2 separate regions of the Homo sapiens genome follow, and region 2 is linked to region 1. Evidence: promoter capture Hi-C in human tissues and cell types (Jung and others, 2019). All regions are on one chromosome and are shown on one strand. The core of a region is centred on a gene start or on the middle of the fragment in contact, and the rest is flanking DNA. Distances in the headings are between cores, read along the strand shown.

Region 1 (3,994 bases), core at 414-2,913:
TCTCTGAAAACTACATAATCACTACTTGTCCATTCTTTTGGTCCTTGCCTGTTCTTTATGGATCAATATTATCAAAGCTACTCCTGTTTCCACAGGCAAATAACAATTCTATGTAATGGGAAAGATATTAAATCCGAATTCATGTTCCTCTTACTAGCTATATAATGGACAATTAAATTATTCCTTTAAATTCCTTTCTCCTTTAGTACACAAGGATAAAATACTCATTTGATTGTTTTAAAGATTAAAGAAGTATCTGAAAGTAACTGTTATATTTTCTTCTGAGAGGTATCCCAATAAAAAGGCTACAATATTGTTATTATTATTACTATTCTAGTATCCTGGATGCAATTTACCTAAGCCTAGATATTTTAATTAATTTAAGTAGCCACATGCTTTCTCACTAGCTATTTTCCCAGCATGATCTCAATCTTTTCTACGCAAAGTTTAGTCTCTTCTCTCCTAAAGATTGTTCTACCTAGAGAAGAATATAGGTTCAGAAAGGAATTCATATACTGGTGTTTCTCTAATCTCTTAGAATTACTTAATTTTTCAAAGAGCTCTATCTTTTCCTATTTATCTTCTTGTTCCAAATAGAATTAAAATCATTTGCTGCCTTTAATATTGTTAAATATTTCATTTCATACTATGCTTCAATTTCTTGCTTTTTTCTTCTTTTTATCTTCCTCCTTCCTTCCTTTTTCTTTCTTTTCTTCTTTTTCAGTTATCATTGTTATGCTTGTCCTTTCTTGTGAGATTCCTCTGTTATCTTTCCTTATGTGCTTTTTAAACAAAACCTCGAGAGTGCCGTGGGACAGCCTCATTGGTATCTTTTCAAATTTGGTATCTCTCCACTTTTTCCTTACATAGTTAGCTGGCAGTAGTACATAATAACCTTTTCTGTCTCTCTCTCTTTCTTTCTTTCTTTCTTTCTTTCTTTCTTTCTTTCTTTCTTAGATTTTCATTCCTCTTGAGCTTTAAAAGACTGGCTAGCAATGTTATATCTTTCATTTTATTTTCTGATTTAAAAAAGTGTGTGTGTGTGTGTGTGTGTGTGTGTGTGTGTGTGTGTGTGTACGCGCGCGCGCGCGCGCGTGCACGTCAGTGTCTTCTTCATGGATGCTTGTCTTATTTTCTCCCAAGGTGTAACTGTCCAGGGAGGGAAAAGTCAAGTCGTCCTCTATTACACTGCTCTGCAGAAACAGACTCACTAAATGTCAAAAAGTAGATGCATCAGACTGTTCCTTAGAGAAAGGTTTGCCATGGAGTCGTATATTGTAACTGAGCTGAAGTTCACTCATCGATAAGTTGTGCCCAAGGAATCGAATTCCTTCCAGTCCTTCTAAGCAGTCCAGGGAAACCAATTTAAAAGCGAACACAACAAAACTAACAGACCGGCAAAATCTATCTTTGAAGCGCCGCGGGAGGCACAATTTGGGAACAGGTGAGGCCATGCTGGGTGGGTGAGGCCCCCCTCTCTCCTGCTTGGTGTTCCGCTTTCAGCCAACCCACCCCAGGAGTACCCTGGGATCTCCTCGCCCCCTGCCAGGCGGAGAACGCGGAGCCCAGCGGGCACGCGGGAATGGAGCTAGGCGCCGGCAGGGCAACTGGGCATGCTCAGAAGCCGGGCAGGTTTTGGTCTCAAGCACGCAGCCTGTGCATTACACCAGCTCTCTCAGTCCGGGGAGGAGGAGGAGCAGGAGGAACGCGAGGAGGAAGGAGAGGAGGAGCGGCCAGCAGTAGCCACGACCGCCACCACCAGGCAGAGGAAGAGTTCGTGGGGAGGAAAAGACCTCTCCTCCCCCTTGGAGCGCCTTCTCTCTGCTTTTGGAGAAAGGGAATACACGATAAAGAAGGAGACGGAAAGAAGAGAAAAAGTGAGGCGGGAGACAGAGGGAAAAGGGCGTGAACAGAAAGGGCCGGAGCGTGCAGGGGAGCACAGGGCGCGGGGGCGGCACTGCCGAGCCGGGAGCGCTGCCGCTTGGGCAGGTGCCGCGGCCGCTGCCCGGAGGCGGCATGTGACGCGCGGCCGCAGCTGCCCGCGGGCGGAGCGCTCTCAGACCCCGGAGCGCACACCGCGGGGCCATCGGTGCCATCGCGGATCTCCAGGCTCCTCATCAGTCCGCCGGGGCCGCAGCAGCGCTTCTGGGAAGACGGGCGATGAACTGAAGGGCGGCTCCGGGCAGGGGGGCACGATCTTAAGGACAGTCGCTCCCTGAACGCGGAGCCGGAGGAGACGAAGGGAAGGTGGAGCGGACGCCACCCGCGCACCGGGCAGGCGCGGAGACCGGCGTGGGACAGCCACCTGGAGCGCAGCTGCCAGGTAGGGACGGCGCCCGCCACCCAGGCGCTGGGCAGAGCGGGTGGCGGTAGCGGCTGACCTGGTTTCTTGCCTTATCTCGTTGCGAAAGGAGGAAAAAGTTTTCGGCGCGGGTAGGAGAGGTCTTGTGTTTGGAGTCCAAAGAAGGGGCTGGGTAGGGACGAGAGAGGCTGTTGATTTGGGGAAGATGGGGGCACTTGAATTCCGACAGCGCGATCTGGTGCGGAGTTGGAGTTCTGGGACTGAGGGTGGGGAACGCCCGCTGGCACTCAAGTGCCCCGAAAGGGACGGGAATCATGCGAGCGGTGGCCGGGAGAGAGTCGGGGACGTCCCACCCCGCTCTCCCTCGCTTCGATTCTCTCTTCGCCACTGCCGGATCTGAGGCTCCAAAGTGCCCGAGCATGAGGAGCTACTGGGCTCCGGGTGTGTTTGTGAGCGCACTCGTGTGTTGAGCGTTTGTCTCCCATCTCCCCATTTGGTTTCCTGTCATTTCTAAGAAGGCTAAAGCTGGCACCCGCCAACCTCGCAGTGGGGCCGCAAGTTCGGATTGCATTTCAGGGGGCGAGAAGGCAAATTTGGCACTTCGAGTAACACTTGGGCGAAGGTACCTAGCCTAGTGCGCATCTTTACTGACCCGGGGAGAGTCTGCACTCGCGAGGCAGCGGCCGCTGGACTGCACCGGTTCTCCTCTTTGGAACACTTCCTCAGCATAGCCTCCTAATAGCGAGGTTAATTTTTGCGTGTTTTTAAACGGCGGGGGCGGGCGGACAGTTGACTCCAGCAGCAGAATTCACTTGTCTACTTCGCGGTGTGCGTGCTGGAATTGAGATCCTGTTCTGCATGCTTGTGCGTGTGTCCGACTCTCCTTGCACGCATTTGGAAGTGGTAGAGGCAGCAGGGATTTGGGAACTGCATCCATATGGATAGGTTTCAAGAATGCAAACCTTCATTTGTCTGCAAGTGTTACTGGAACCTGTCCAAAGGCTGCAAGGATATGTCCCCTCGATCCCCGCCAGTGTCCGTGTTTGCAATGTGAAAGGGCGGCCCTCTTTAGGACAAAAATGTATTTATCAAAGCGATGTGTGGTTAAGAACACTGGTTATTTCACCATATGCTTTGCACAGACTTTTCCTTTCTCTCTTGCCCTCTGAGTTCCAAGACAGATAACCTGTCCCCTCCCCCCATTTTGACCTTTGTAGGTTACTATTTGAAAAATAATTTTTAACTGGGTGCAGTGATTATATAGTCCAGATAATTTCATATTGTGAGATCGTTATATCGCATGAACCATTCATCATTATTTCCTGTGTTTAAAACAATGCCCATGTATTTACTTAAGAGAGACTATGAACATATAGTTCAGAAAGGGGAAAACTAAACCTAGAGCAGATACCTGCATATAAGCGTATTGTAGTGGTAGCACGTTAATAAAAAACTAAGGTATTTCTGTTCCAAATATTGTGGGATAGACGAGGTGTTGAGTGCACCCTCTTGTTATAAGAGCTGATATCCCGAAGTATACATGTGCAAGGAACATGCCTGCTTCTTCAGTGTGCATTCCAACATGCCACAGAAATGTGGTTTACATCATAGCTTCTACCGCCGAATAGTCTATCTTTAGATTTTGTTTACATGGTTTGTCTCAATTAGCTTAATACATAATTAGCTATTGTT
Region 2 (3,994 bases), core at 694-3,193, 1.5 Mb before region 1:
CTCAAGTATGTTAACATCAAGCTTCTAGGATAGTTTGTTGCGTGAAACACACGTATCCCTGTAAGGTCAGGGTTTACATCCTGCTTAGCAATTTGAAGTAGGGTTGGCTTGACTACAAAGCAGCTGTTCAGGAGTGTAACACCTTTACCTTGCTGAAAGGTCAATTTAGCAGTTATTCCCTGAAAAATAAGTAGGTGAAGTTGATAGAACCAGGATTAGTTTCAGAATTTCAGTGAGAATAGGAAGTACCCCAGAGTATGGCTGAGCAGCAGCATCAGTTATAAGAAAGTTCCTTAAACAGGATGTTTGCCTTGAGAAGTCAGTGATGGTATCCCCACCCACCCCCTTTAAAAAAAAAAAAGTCTTAGTTCTTAAGACTAGGAAACTACTTGTCAGTTCTGGCTCAAAACTAAGTCTCTGATGATCAAGCCACCTCCAGTTGGAGGATCTATGATCAGATACCTTTAGTCACTGTTCTAGACATTGGTTTAAGTCTGGTGCTCAGACCAGGGAAGATCAGCATCATCTAGGAAATGGCTGGAAATGTGAGTTTAAACCTTTGTCCACACCTACTGAATCAAACTCTGAGAATGGGACCAGGCCTACTGAATTCAAACCGAGAATGGGAACAGTCATCTGTTTCTACCAGCCCTCCCATGATCCTGAGGCACACTCAAGTTTGAGAACCAGTGATCTAGATTCATAATTAGTTCTACCCTAGTTTCCTTGATCTTATGGAAAAATTTTATTCCACGTTCTCTGACCTAAGACCTCTACTAAGTCTGAAATTTTTGTATCAGTTTCTATTCTATTCTCAGTTGAGTTATACTACCAAGCTTAAGAGATAAAGTGATGTGAACAGATGAACTAGTCTGAAATTAACCTTTTACCTTTCAAATGAGAAGCTCAGCACAGGCTGGGAATACACTCTGGTTTTATTGACACATTTGGTCTGGGCAACTCTTCTGTTTCTTGACAGCCAAGTAGGATACTAACAAGGCTCCAAGGATTAAGGTCCCAGAAAGGCCTGCCACCCACAGAACTTTCGAGTCTACAGGAACACCTGGAGGATGGATGGAAAGGTAGGTTAATGTATGCTAAAACCAAGTGATTCTGTGTCCTGACAAAGACTAGCAGTCTTCTGCTATAGGAAGGTCAATTTCTTTTGACTAGAACAAGAGGGATAGAAAGGAGGAAGTTGCTTTGATTAGTAATTTAGTTCACTAGTTTGATCTCCTCCCTCTTGGATACTTACGGAGCTTTTCTGGAGGGTCCTTAGTGGCTTGGAGTAGAATCATGGGGCCTTTGCTAGAAACACTAGCAGTAGTGTTCTGAGAACTGTTGTCAAAATTTCTTCTTCCTGTTAGAGAAATGAGACCTAGTAATTCATTAGTTTTTGCACACATAGGGCAGGGATAGAAAATGTTATGGTGCAAGGCCAAGTGTCTCTATAAAGCTTGGTTCTATGCCTTACAAAAACCTCATTAAGTATATTAATATGTACTTGAACAAGTGAGATTTTATATCTGATGCCATTACCTTAGTTTCACCAGGACTTTCGTATAAAGATGTTAGAAACTATCCCTGAACTGCCATCCTTTTCTAAATAGTACTTTGACAGTATCATGTTTATAATTCAGAGATCTTTCCCTGAAATTCAAAGGTAACTATTAGAACAGAACTTGGAGGCTGAGATGCAGAGAAAACAATTTAATGAGTTTAGATCTGGTTTTCAAGTGAAGTAAAACAAATTTCATTCACTTGAAATATACAGTTTTACGTTTTCTGTATCCTATGTTTTATTAAGAAAGATGGCAAGATGGCAAATGGAAGAGTGGGAAACAAAGGACACACCTGCAGGTGGACAGTGAGGAAAAAAAGCTTTCTGGAGTTTGAGACCAGCCCAGGCAACATAAAGATCCATCTCTATAAAAAAATAAGACAAAGGCCGGGCGTGGTGGCTCATGCCTGTAATCCCAACACTTTGGGGGGCCAAGGCAGGTGGATCACCTAAGGTCAGGAGTTCAAGACCAGCCTGGCCAACGTGGTGAATCCCTGTCTCTACCAAAAATACAAAATGAGCTGGACTTTGTGGCACATGCCTGTAATCCCAGCTACTCAGGAGGCTGAGGTGGGAGAGAGGGGGAGGGGGAGGGCGGGGGAGGGCGGGGGAGGGCCGGGGGAGGGCGGGGGAGGGCGGGGGAGGGCGGGGGAGGGCGGGGGAGGGCGGGGGAGGGCGGGGGAGGGAGAGAGAGGGAGAGAGAGGGAGAGAGAGGGAGAGAGAGGAAGAGAGAGGAAGAGAGAGGAAGAGAGAGGAAGAGAGGGAGAAAGGCTGGGCATAGTAGAATACGCCTGTAGTTTTAGTTGGGAGGCTGAACTGGGCGTATCACCTGAGCTCAGGAGGTCGAGGCTACCATGAACTGTAATCATGCCATTGTACTCCAACCTGCATGACAGAGCAAGAACTGGTCACACACACAAACACACACACACACAAACACACACACACACACACACACACACACACACAAACACACACACACACAAACACACACAAACACACACAAACACACACAAACACACACAAACACACACAAACACACACAAACAGTGTAGAACTGTTTTAATTCTACTTCTATTTGCCAGTTGTAGGACCTCAATCTAAGATGGTTCATTCTTTAGAAGTAGTGATAATATGCATTTTTGGAGATGTTACTTAATGTTGTACTTTGCATAATAAAGCACCATTTAGTTACTATGAGTTTTGCTAGAAGGCACTTAAAGCTTTAGAGGTCATGAATCCAAACTCAGAGGCTAGGCAAGTACAGGTAGAACCCATGTAGACATACAGACACATTGACTACTTAGAAGCATTGGACCCAACGAACTAGAGACCACATTCTAGGTCCAGTCATTCTACTTATAGATCTTTAGGCTGCATTGCCAGACCTGTCAAGCAGGTACAGACATGTTTCTCAACTATTCAGGTGTATCTTGTTAAAATGAGACATAAGATAGGCCATAAACTGCCTTGGTTGGTGGATGAATTAAAGTTTATATGGAAAAAGCTAAGGTTGAGGGTTACCCGAACATTTATAGCTTGTTTTAGGAGACATGGGATTCTGGGAAGCTAGTCATCTTTGTTCTATGGCACCGCAAGTACTTAGAGAAGCCTTAGTAAGATGAATCTTCAGTTTGAGTTGTTTGGCCAGAGACTAGGAAAGGTTAGACATGGGACTCAAGATTCATTCAAATCTGTCCTCTAACAGCTTGGTTACTCACGACTGAGATCAGGACAGGTCACCACACAGGATGGTGTCTCAGCAGGCTGGCAGACTGACACGCTGCAGTGCAGATGCACCTGGGAGCCAACAGAATTCAGGTCATTTGTAGTATCACCATGCCATGTATCTCTAAACCTGCTTTGCCTCCCCAGGAAGAGGTTCAGGAAGTTATCAGAAAATTGATATGGTCCAAGTTGATATCACAATGGCACTAAGGAACTGGAGTCCAGTTGACAGATGTCACTCATGTAATTAGTAACAAGGGTTGCTCTGAGTCAGTACCAATAGCCAGCATTAAAGGGCTTCCTTGGCTGCAGAGTAGTAGGACATGGAAACAGTTGTAAGTTGGGGAGGTTCAGAGCCCTGGTGAGTGTCATGGAAGGGAACATCCTACCGGTCCCCTGAGGGCCTGTTTCTCCACTGTAGGGTTCACAAAGCTGAAGGTGAAGATGCTGAAGCGCTGGTGGTGAGAGGGAAATGGAAGATCCAAGGCTTTCTGGACAGGGATCAGCTGGGTCTGATAGTTGTCTCCAATGTAGGGGCAGCTAGACCAAGAGACCCAGCAGTCAGGATGGGCTTCTTTGAGAATTTCAGCACAGGTGTATGAAAGAACCACTTACCCCTTTACCAGGATGGGCCACTGTGGCTGACTCAGGGGGTCAGTGCTGGGTGTTGCCCAACACTGTTGTAGGAGCAGCCCCAGGTAGGGG

Evidence for each region. Contacts are between HindIII fragments. The study calls those that stand out against the background at their distance.
Region 2: a fragment that was not itself captured here is called in contact with the fragment with the promoter of CHRM3 in region 1 in 1 of the 25 tissues and cell types used here (dorsolateral prefrontal cortex).

What each region holds. Positions count from the first base shown.
Region 1 is chr1:239,384,905-239,388,898 of GRCh38, forward strand. It overlaps CHRM3 (cholinergic receptor muscarinic 3), which reads left to right and starts at 1,664. Exons shown (of 7, transcript NM_001375978.1): 1 at 1,664-2,323. RefSeq lists enhancers at 2,386-2,886, 2,887-3,387. The HindIII fragment of the contact is 18,968 bases long and covers 1-3,994 here.
Region 2 is chr1:237,881,487-237,885,480 of GRCh38, forward strand. ZP4 (zona pellucida glycoprotein 4) reads right to left here. Exons shown (of 12, transcript NM_021186.5): 8 at 3,905-3,994; 9 at 3,679-3,829; 10 at 3,283-3,361; 11 at 1,256-1,360; 12 at 918-1,063. The coding sequence ends at 936. It also overlaps the pseudogene LOC100130331. Among named protein-coding and RNA genes, the nearest start is that of ZP4, 7.4 kb to the right of the region's middle. The HindIII fragment of the contact is 4,833 bases long and covers 1-3,994 here.